2 separate regions of the Homo sapiens genome follow, and region 1 is linked to region 2. The links are contacts of gene promoters, found by promoter capture Hi-C in blood cells and fetal thymus (Javierre and others, 2016). All regions are on one chromosome and are shown on one strand. Each heading gives the region's core, a stretch centred on a gene start or on the middle of the fragment in contact. The rest is flanking DNA. Distances are from core to core; before and after follow the strand shown.

Region 1 (4,173 bases), core at 856-3,355, 73 kb after region 2:
TGATTCCCAGCAGTAGACACTCAGTCGACTCATTCATTCATTCTTCACATTTGACCCTGAGGCATTGTTCTCTGGTCCAGCATGCCCTACCTATGTTGTTTGGCTTTTCTAGAAGGTTCCCCAGTCCTTCATGCCTGTGGCTCCAGGCAGGCCTAGACCAGTGAGGTATGACCTGCAAAGATATCTGGGGCCCCAGTGCACACATAAAATGCCTAGCTCGGAGCCAGGTCTGTTTCAACAATACTGGCTTCTCATTCTTTCCTTCCTTCCAATGCAGCCAGTAGGATTTTCTCAGTGCTTCCCAGCTATACTTCCACCTCCCCAAACCCAGCCGTCAGCTTGCCTGTTCCCACATCTCTGCTTCTTCCTCCTTGTGTCTTTTGCCCAAATGAACTTTACCCTTTAATCTTGGCCTTGCCCTGCTTTATCTCCTCTCATGAAGGCTTTTGTGATCTCGAAGGCATGAAAAAAGGACTGACATATGTATTAACCAACACCATAAGGTAGAAATTGAGACAGAAGGCCAGGCAGGGTGGCTCATGACTGTTATCCCAGCATTTTGGGAGTCCAAGGCCAGCAGATCACCTGAGGTCGGGAGTTCAAGACCAGCCTGACCAACATGGAGAAACCCTGTCTCTAATAAAAATACAAAATTAGCCGAGCATGGTGGCACATGCCTGTAATCCCAGCTACTCGGGAGGCTGAGGCAGGAGAATAGCTTGAACTGGGGAGGTAGAGGTTGCGTGAGCCGAGATTGCGCCATTGCACTCCAGCCTGGGCGACAGAGCGAGACTCCATCTCAAAAACAAACAAAAAAACAAAAAAGAAATTGAGAAAGAACAGGGAACGCTCTGGAGGGCGCAGCCATAAGCTCAGCCCTGCAGAGGGATTAGGCTTGGATGTAAGTGAGGACTCATGAGAGGAAAGGCCTGGGAAGTGGGCATTCCTGGAACAGAGTGGGTTGCTCTACCAGGTGAGTCAGAAGATGCCATTGAAAAATGCCTGAGCCTGAGGAATAGGAGATCGGCTTTTGTTCCAGCTCCATCCATAAATTACTGCATGGCCTCAGGCAGATTCTTAACTGTTTTTAGCCACAGTTTCCTCATCTAAAATGGAAAGGATAATGGTATCTAACTCATGGAGTTGTTGTAGGACTCATCAGAAGATCCCCTAGCACAGGGCCTGACCTCACTCAATATTAGCTATGTTGCTGATAGTGCTCTGGAGCTTGGTTTCTTTATCTGAAAATGAACTAAGTTGTCCTAGATCAGTATTTCCTGGTGTAAATTTTATCATGAGCCAGAGCATAACAGTGCATAAAGAGCCAGTGTATCAAGAAGTCATTTGTAGCAGCCAAAGCTCTTAGTGGGGCCGGCAAGGCTGGGCGGGTTCGGGGTCGGAGACTGACAAGACGGCAGGCAGCCCCTCTGTTCTAAGACAGTGTCCTAGGACATTTTTTATGCTCAGGTGCTCTATGGGAGACAGGAAATGCAGCCCTGAGGTTTATATTCGTGATATCTAACCAGGACTTATATAAAGGCCACAGACAAAAGACATTGACATTGCAGAAAAGTAAACGGAAGAGTCCAGTGGTCCCACTCCAAGGCGCATAACTAGTTAGTGGCAGATTCAGAACCAGAACCCCAACCCCATTTTCTGGTCCCAGATGGGGTTCTTCCTCTGACAGCAGGCGACTTCCCAAGCCTCATCCTTTCCCCAGCGCTTTGGAGTATACTCATGTGAGCCTGAGGACACACACACAGGCACCAGGCTTGTTGGGAACAGCTGCGGCTCAAATCCCTCCTCCTGCTCCCCTCCCCTGGTTATGCAACTCTTTTCCAATTAGGCTCTCAGCCACACACCATTTGGATTCCCCGACCTTAATCCTGTGCAATGGGGCTGAAATGAATGAGACAGGGCTCCATTCTGGCTTCACAAAGGCTGCATTGTCCAACTCGTGAATGGGTTCCTTCTGCTTGGGCCAAGAGGACCATTTGCAGCGGGGAGGCATCCAGAAACAGCCCAAGGTCCAACATAATAACCTGCATGTGCCTCCACGCACATGGGATGGCCCTTTAAAAGGGAGGGCCTGGCTGTGGGAAGCCAGAGACAGCTGGGCCACTGGCAGTGAGGGAGAGTGAGGATGGCAGAGACCAGTGCCCTGCCCACTGGCTTCGGGGAGCTCGAGGTGCTGGCTGTGGGGATGGTGCTACTGGTGGAAGGTGAGCCAGGCAGAACCTGGGGTGCAGCGGGGGCCCAGTGGGTTCTGAGGACCCAGGCCACCAGTGTGGAGCTGGCAAGGAGAGGAGAGGTCCCCAAACCCAGCTGGGTGTCCGGTCCCATTGGCTGCCTTCCCCTCTGTGCCCGGACTCGGGGGGTGTTCTGACAATTGAACCTGTGAGGTGCAGCACACTGCCCGCTGGGAGCAGAGAGGAAGCCAGGCAAGGGTCAGGGAGGGAGGGACTTTGAAAGGGGACATCTGCCCAGGAGATGATCAAGAGCCAGGCTTTAGGACTTTTCATGTCCCTCCAGCCGGGAGAAAATTTAATCCACTCCTTGGAAATCCTGCTGAGAATCCCACATAAGATCAGTCCCCCAAAAGGCTCTGGGGACAGACAGCTCTGCCTCCTGCTCTTGTGTGGCTGGAACCAAGTCCCTTCAGCTCTCTGCCCTCAATGCCTTGACATTCCGAATGGGTGGTTGTAAAGATTAAATGGGATAATGGGTATAAAGTGCTAGCCTAAATAGACTCTAGGGTATTTAAGTTCATTCACTCCCATCCTCTCCAGCCCCACCACTATTTTCACTGTGTCTACTCCTATGAGCCCAAGCACTTCACCTCTGGAGGCAACCTGGGTCTGCGAGGTACCTACCTCAACCTAGAATCCCTAAGATGCTCGCTGAGGCCAGAGCTAGAGACAGTGTCAATCCTGAATCTGGGCCAGCCCAAGCTAAATTGATGGAGAACGCAGCTTTGGTTCAAAGCAGACCCAGAGAAATCATCAGCACGTTTTCTCACCTAATGAGAACTGACAATGGAGAGGAAGTGACAGTCATTAGATTGGTCCTGAAGGCTCTGGACACGACTGTCTGGTGGCCCCAGCCCGTGTCTCCCTTTCCTGAGAACCCTACAATCTAGCATCCTTCCAGGTCCTCAAACATGCCATAAAATTTTACCACTTTATTTTTTGGAAGGGGTTTAAATTTACATTTTTATTTCATGTTTAATGACTAGAAATGTCATTATATACACAATGCTTTGGTTTTTATTTTATTTAAAATATGTTTTAAATTTCAATAGCTTTGGGGATACAAGTGATTTTTGTTTACATAGATGAATTACATCGTGGCAAATGCTAGGACTTTAGTGCACTCATCACCCAAGTAGCGTACATTGTGCCTCATTTGTAGGTTTTTTTAATCCCACTCCCTCTCCCACCCTTCCCCTTCTGAGTCTCCAGAGTCCATTGTGTCCTCTGAATGCCTTTGCGTACTCACGGTTTAGCTCCCACTTGTAACTGAGAACAAACAGCATTTGGTTTTCCATTCCTGAGTTACTTCACTTACAATAATGGCCTCCAGCTCCATCCAAATTGCTGTAATAAGACATTATTTCATTCCTTTTTACAGCTATTATTCCATGATGTATATATACTACATTTTCTTTATCCATTCATTGGTCAGTGGGCACTTACATTGATTTCGTATCTTTGCAATTGTGAATTGTGCCTCGGTAAGCATAGATGTGCATGTGTGTTTTTGGCTGGATTAAATGGCAGATCTACTTTTAGTTATTTAAGGAATCTCTATACTGTTTTCCATAGAGGTTGTATTAATTTACATATTCCCACCAGCAGTGCATAAGCATTCCCTTTTTACCACATCCATGGCATTGATCTATTGTTTTTTGACTTTTTAATGATGGTCATTCTTATAGGAGTAAGGTGGTATCTCATTGTACCATAGCATGTCTTTGCACATGCTATTCCCTCCTGGAATGCTCTTCCATGCACTGTCCTGCAGGTAAGTGCTTCTCATAGTTTTGAAGGCAGGATTTTTTCCTGTTCCTCACTTTAGATAGGGGAAGCTGAGGTTCAGAGAGCTTAAGGAGCAGCAAGCGAGGCAACCAAGCCAAAATTCAAGGTCGGGTCTCTCTGTTGCCAGAGTACGCCC
Region 2 (4,450 bases), core at 1,951-4,450:
TAGTCTAGCATTCATTAGCTAATGGTGTCCTTTGGTATTTATTAAAATCACCACAGCATACGAGGACTTTAGGTTTTGCCTAAGAGTTAGCTTATTTGCTTCTTGTACTAACAGGGCCATTGCTGCCAGGGCCCTTGCACATGGGGGCCAGCCTTTGGAAACCCCATCAGTTGTTTTGAGAGATAGGCCACTGGCCTTGGCCAGGGCCCTACAGTCTGGGTTAAAACTCCAACTATCATTTTTTCTCTTTCTGACACATAGAGTGTAAAGAGTTTCATCAGGTCAGGTAGCCTCAGGGCTGGGGCCAACACAATTTTTTCTTTTAAATTCATGAAAAGCTCATTGCTGTTGGTTGTAATAGATGTAGTTTATCTAATCTGCATTTTTATTGACTGTCATCTACCAAGATATTGATTTAAATCTTGTAACTATTTGATTTCAAGCTTTAAATTGATCTGGTATTCCTTGCGGGGCTTCAATTGCATCTAAATAGATGTGAGAGTTGAAAGACCTATAAGGGGCTTCTCTCACTTTATGATTTTTATTTTATTTTATTTTTTTCTTCCTCTGGTTGATGAAGTGCCAGGGTAAAAGGGATAGCCAAATGGACTAAAGCACAAGTGCCACTCTAGTTATTCAGCAGAGTGCCCAGTAAAGGTCCACCACAATACCACCACACATCCACTCGGGGATGAACAAGGGCTGACTGATTGATAAGCTCTTGAAAATTCTTAAGCTCACTGCATCCCTTCAGGTCTCCAAGGAATGCTAAGTCTCCTCCCTGCCACGAGAGACAAGAAGTGAACTTAGCGTTGGGAGACAGAAGCTGGATGGCCTTCGGGGGCTGACCCTCAGGGACTTCAGGATATAGCAGAGAGAGCTTGGCATGACTTATTACTCCAGGCTGTAGAATCCTGGAAAACAGCTACCATGCAGCCCACGCCTGGTCGACTGGAGGACCACCTTAGTGGAAGGGGGACAATCAGGGCCTCTGGCCTGCCATGTGCACAAGCATAACAATTGCTTTTGTTTAATGTGCAGATGGAATATTTGATCCATTTCAACCAGGCATTTGCATCTTGGTATGCTGTCTTAATTTCCAAAGTTTGTTTTAAGTCTTTAACTTCTATGATCCTCTAGTAAAAGGAATGTTTCCTTTAGTACCTATTTTTATTAGTTTTTAGACCAAAGAAAGTTAAACACCATTTTATATTTAATAATGCTTCTTGTATGATTTTTATACCAGATAAGCTAAATTTTACCTTTATATTAGTGTGTTATTAATGTTAAACTTAATTTTAATAAAACCTTGTAGATATATTTATCCAATTTTTCATGTTTGACCATAAGGTGAGATTTTATAGACTCTTTTTAACCTTTTATAATTTTTGTTAAAGAGCAGGTTGATGCTTTAAGAAAAACCTGTTGCATTTTTACTTTAATGTCCAGTTCACAGAAAAGCTGGATGATACCTTTTTAACTTTAGCTAATATGTTTATACACAGAATTTTCTTTACAATTAAAGTTTTAAAACTTGCTTAAACTTTCAAAACAATAATTTTTTAACCTTTTAATGTTGGTAAAAATCCACATTCTTATGCCTCCTTATAATCTTTTTACCAAAGGTATATTTTACTATTTTTATACACCTTGCACATAAACTGTTTCTTCAATAGTAGTACTCAGGAGGCTTTTTTGCATAAATTTTTTTATAACATTTTTTCTTTCACAACTTTCGCCGACAATTCTTCAACATGCCTCAACTTTCTGACTTATTACAAACATTTTTTTTCTTTAAACAACCAGTTAATTTATTTCAGGACAAGAATTTACCATATAACACTCTTTTTACATAAATTCTGCCTCCCCCCCGCTTTTTTTTTTGAAGATAACCATTCCTTTTTTTAAAGCGAACTTTCTTTATGTCTTTGGACTAGACTCTCTAAGGCCACAAGATTAGAAGTTACCACAATATATGTTATGCTGTTAACTTTTAGCAAACTTCACTTTTGTTGAAAACCTTGTAAGTTTGGGATTTCAATTATCCTTTGCTATTAATAAGACCTTGTTTAGTCTAAATTAACTTAGAATTGGTATAGATGGCCTCTTTTTTTTTTTTCTCTGCTGGTCTTTCCTTGCCTCTCCCAACTGCTTATGCTGCTGTTCTTTTAACTACTGTGGAGGGGAAGGGGGTCTAAAACCAGCTGTAACTGTCTATGTATGGAAACTGGTCTGGGTGCCTTGGCTTACAGGTTGCCCTGTGTCATACCGTTGAAACAAGGGACCTGTCCAGGCTTCTTTCTGATGACCAACCCACTCTAATGCTGGCCAGTCTATTTCACACAAAGTTCTAAGTTTTCCTGGTGTCACAGTAACATCGTAATCTCCCTTAAATTCTTTCTTGAAATTTTTATTTTTTTTAACATAGTTCCTAGTGGGGTGGGCTTATTTTTGCCTGACCCATGCTTCTTCAAGACAAAACACCATGTTCACACCACACACACACCACAAAACAAAAAACAGGTAAAAAGGGCACACACACACTTTTGCAGTTTACACCAAACCAAAATCAGAGTATCCAGAAATCCAAGCCAGGTCAAAACTAAAACCAAAGTATCACACAATCTAAGTCAAGTCAAAACCAGAACAAAAGTGTCAATGCAGGCATGCCGTGGGTGATCAGGCCATGTTTCCACCCAGATGGAGTAGGGCAAGTTCCAAAGACTAGTCTTACCAACTCAAGCCAAGTCAAAACCAGAACAAAATGCCAATACAGGCACACTGTGGGTGATCAGGCCACGCTTCCACTCAGATGGAGTGGGGCAAGTTCCAAAGACTAGTCTTACCAAGTTGTAGATGTCCGGACTCCAAGTGCCAGTTCCTTCCTGGTGTTCAGCCACTGTGTTAATCTTCCGTGGGGGCCTGCTACACGCTGCTCTGGCAAGGCGTTCCATTGGGGCAATTGCCTACCCGGGAGCGCTCTTTGGATCACGTCACTCAGGCTGGCCGGAGTTCCCCTCACGGATGCTCCACAGGGCAGGCCTAAGCCGCCTAAGGGGCTGCCTCGGCCATCCGTCAGTCACCTCGTTTCCCAGTCAGGGAACCAAGAAATGTAGCAGGGTGAGCCGCAGACAAAACCTCTCAGACACTGAGTTGTAGAAGGCAGGGCTTTATTCAGCTGGGAGCATCGGCAAGCTACTGCCTTCAAATCTGAGCTCCCTGAATACACAATTTCTGTTCCTTTTAAGGGCTCACAACACTAAAGATTTCACATGAAAGGGTCGTGATTGATTTGAGCAAGCAGGCGGTACGTGACAGGGGCTGCATGCACCGGTGGTCAGAGAGAAACAGAACAGGGCAGGGAGTTTCACAATGTTCTTCTATACAATGTCTGGAATCTATGAATAACATTGGTTTTTAAGTTATGAGTTGATTTTTAACTACTGGGTTTAGTCCAGGCAGGCCCAGGCCTGGTTTCAGGCCTGGCGCCGGGCTGCCTGTCTTTGGTTTTACTTCCTTGTTTTTTCTTAAAAGAGGTACTGAGTATAAAACAATATAAAACAATATGAGAGGGTATCTCTCTTCCCTCAGTTTGGGAGTGGAGGTTTGAGAGCAGCCCAGGCAGAGGCTCATCAGGGTGCATGGGAAACATCCTAATTTCTTCCGAAAAATATTCCTCCTACCCACCACCTCTCATAGGCCCAGGGGCTCTGAACCCTCTGACACCATCTGAGGCCAGAGCCTAGCAAGTGTTCAGGCACCCATGCACCATTATTAAAGGGAACTCAGACCCACTCTGATGGAAAAGGAGCCCAAAGCATTCCTGTCATCAGTCTCTACCCGGCTGAAGGATCCCCCGGCCTCCCTTTTGCCAGTCTGATTCCTCTGCTGGTCCAGGAAGCCCACCATGACCTGGCCTACCATGCCAGGCCATCTCCGACCCAATCTTATTCCATCTCTGCAGAGTGTCCCCTCCCTCCCCCACCTTCTGACTGAGCAACCTACGTCCCCTTCCTTCAGTATAGACAGCACTTACAATGCTGTGAGACAGTCACTTGTCTGCACAGCTTCCTCCACCAACAGGAGCTCCTTGAGGCGAGGCACAGTGTCTTCTGTGTCCCTGGAGCCAAGCGCATGGCTCAGCCCAGGTCACGTGTCCAGTGAATGGGTGGCATCTGAGCCTCCTGCACCTGTGGTCAGACTTTCCCCCATGCCTGCCCTGGGCAGAGGCTCCTCTCTTCCAGGCCTTGTTCAGGGTGACCCTGTACTTGAAGTGTCTTCTCATTTCATCACTGTCTTAAACATCAAAGTCCACCTGTGGCCCCACCTCCTTTAAGAGCTGTGTGAGCACCTTGGTGCAGATGGCTTCTCATACATGCCTCAATACAGGCTTGTGAGAGAGATAGTCCTGTGCCCATTTCACAGATGGGAAGCCGACTCAAAGACATTC

What was found. Contacts are between HindIII fragments. The CHiCAGO score rates a contact against its expected background, and 5 or more counts as called.
Region 1: the fragment with the promoter of RGR here is called in contact with the fragment with the promoter of CERNA2 in region 2 in 1 of 17 cell types (neutrophils); the score reaches 5.0 in neutrophils.

The regions. Positions count from the first base shown.
Region 1 is chr10:84,242,948-84,247,120 of GRCh38, forward strand. It overlaps RGR (retinal G protein coupled receptor), which reads left to right and starts at 2,106. Exons shown (of 7, transcript NM_001012720.2): 1 at 2,106-2,222. The coding sequence starts at 2,144. RefSeq lists an enhancer at 2,252-2,751. The HindIII fragment of the contact is 12,009 bases long and covers 1-4,173 here.
Region 2 is chr10:84,168,876-84,173,325 of GRCh38, forward strand. CERNA2 (competing endogenous lncRNA 2 for microRNA let-7b) reads right to left here and starts at 3,201. Exons shown (of 2, transcript NR_134505.1): 1 at 2,847-3,201. RefSeq lists enhancers at 2,520-3,021, 2,936-2,985, 3,336-3,575, 4,396-4,445. The HindIII fragment of the contact is 12,565 bases long and covers 442-4,450 here.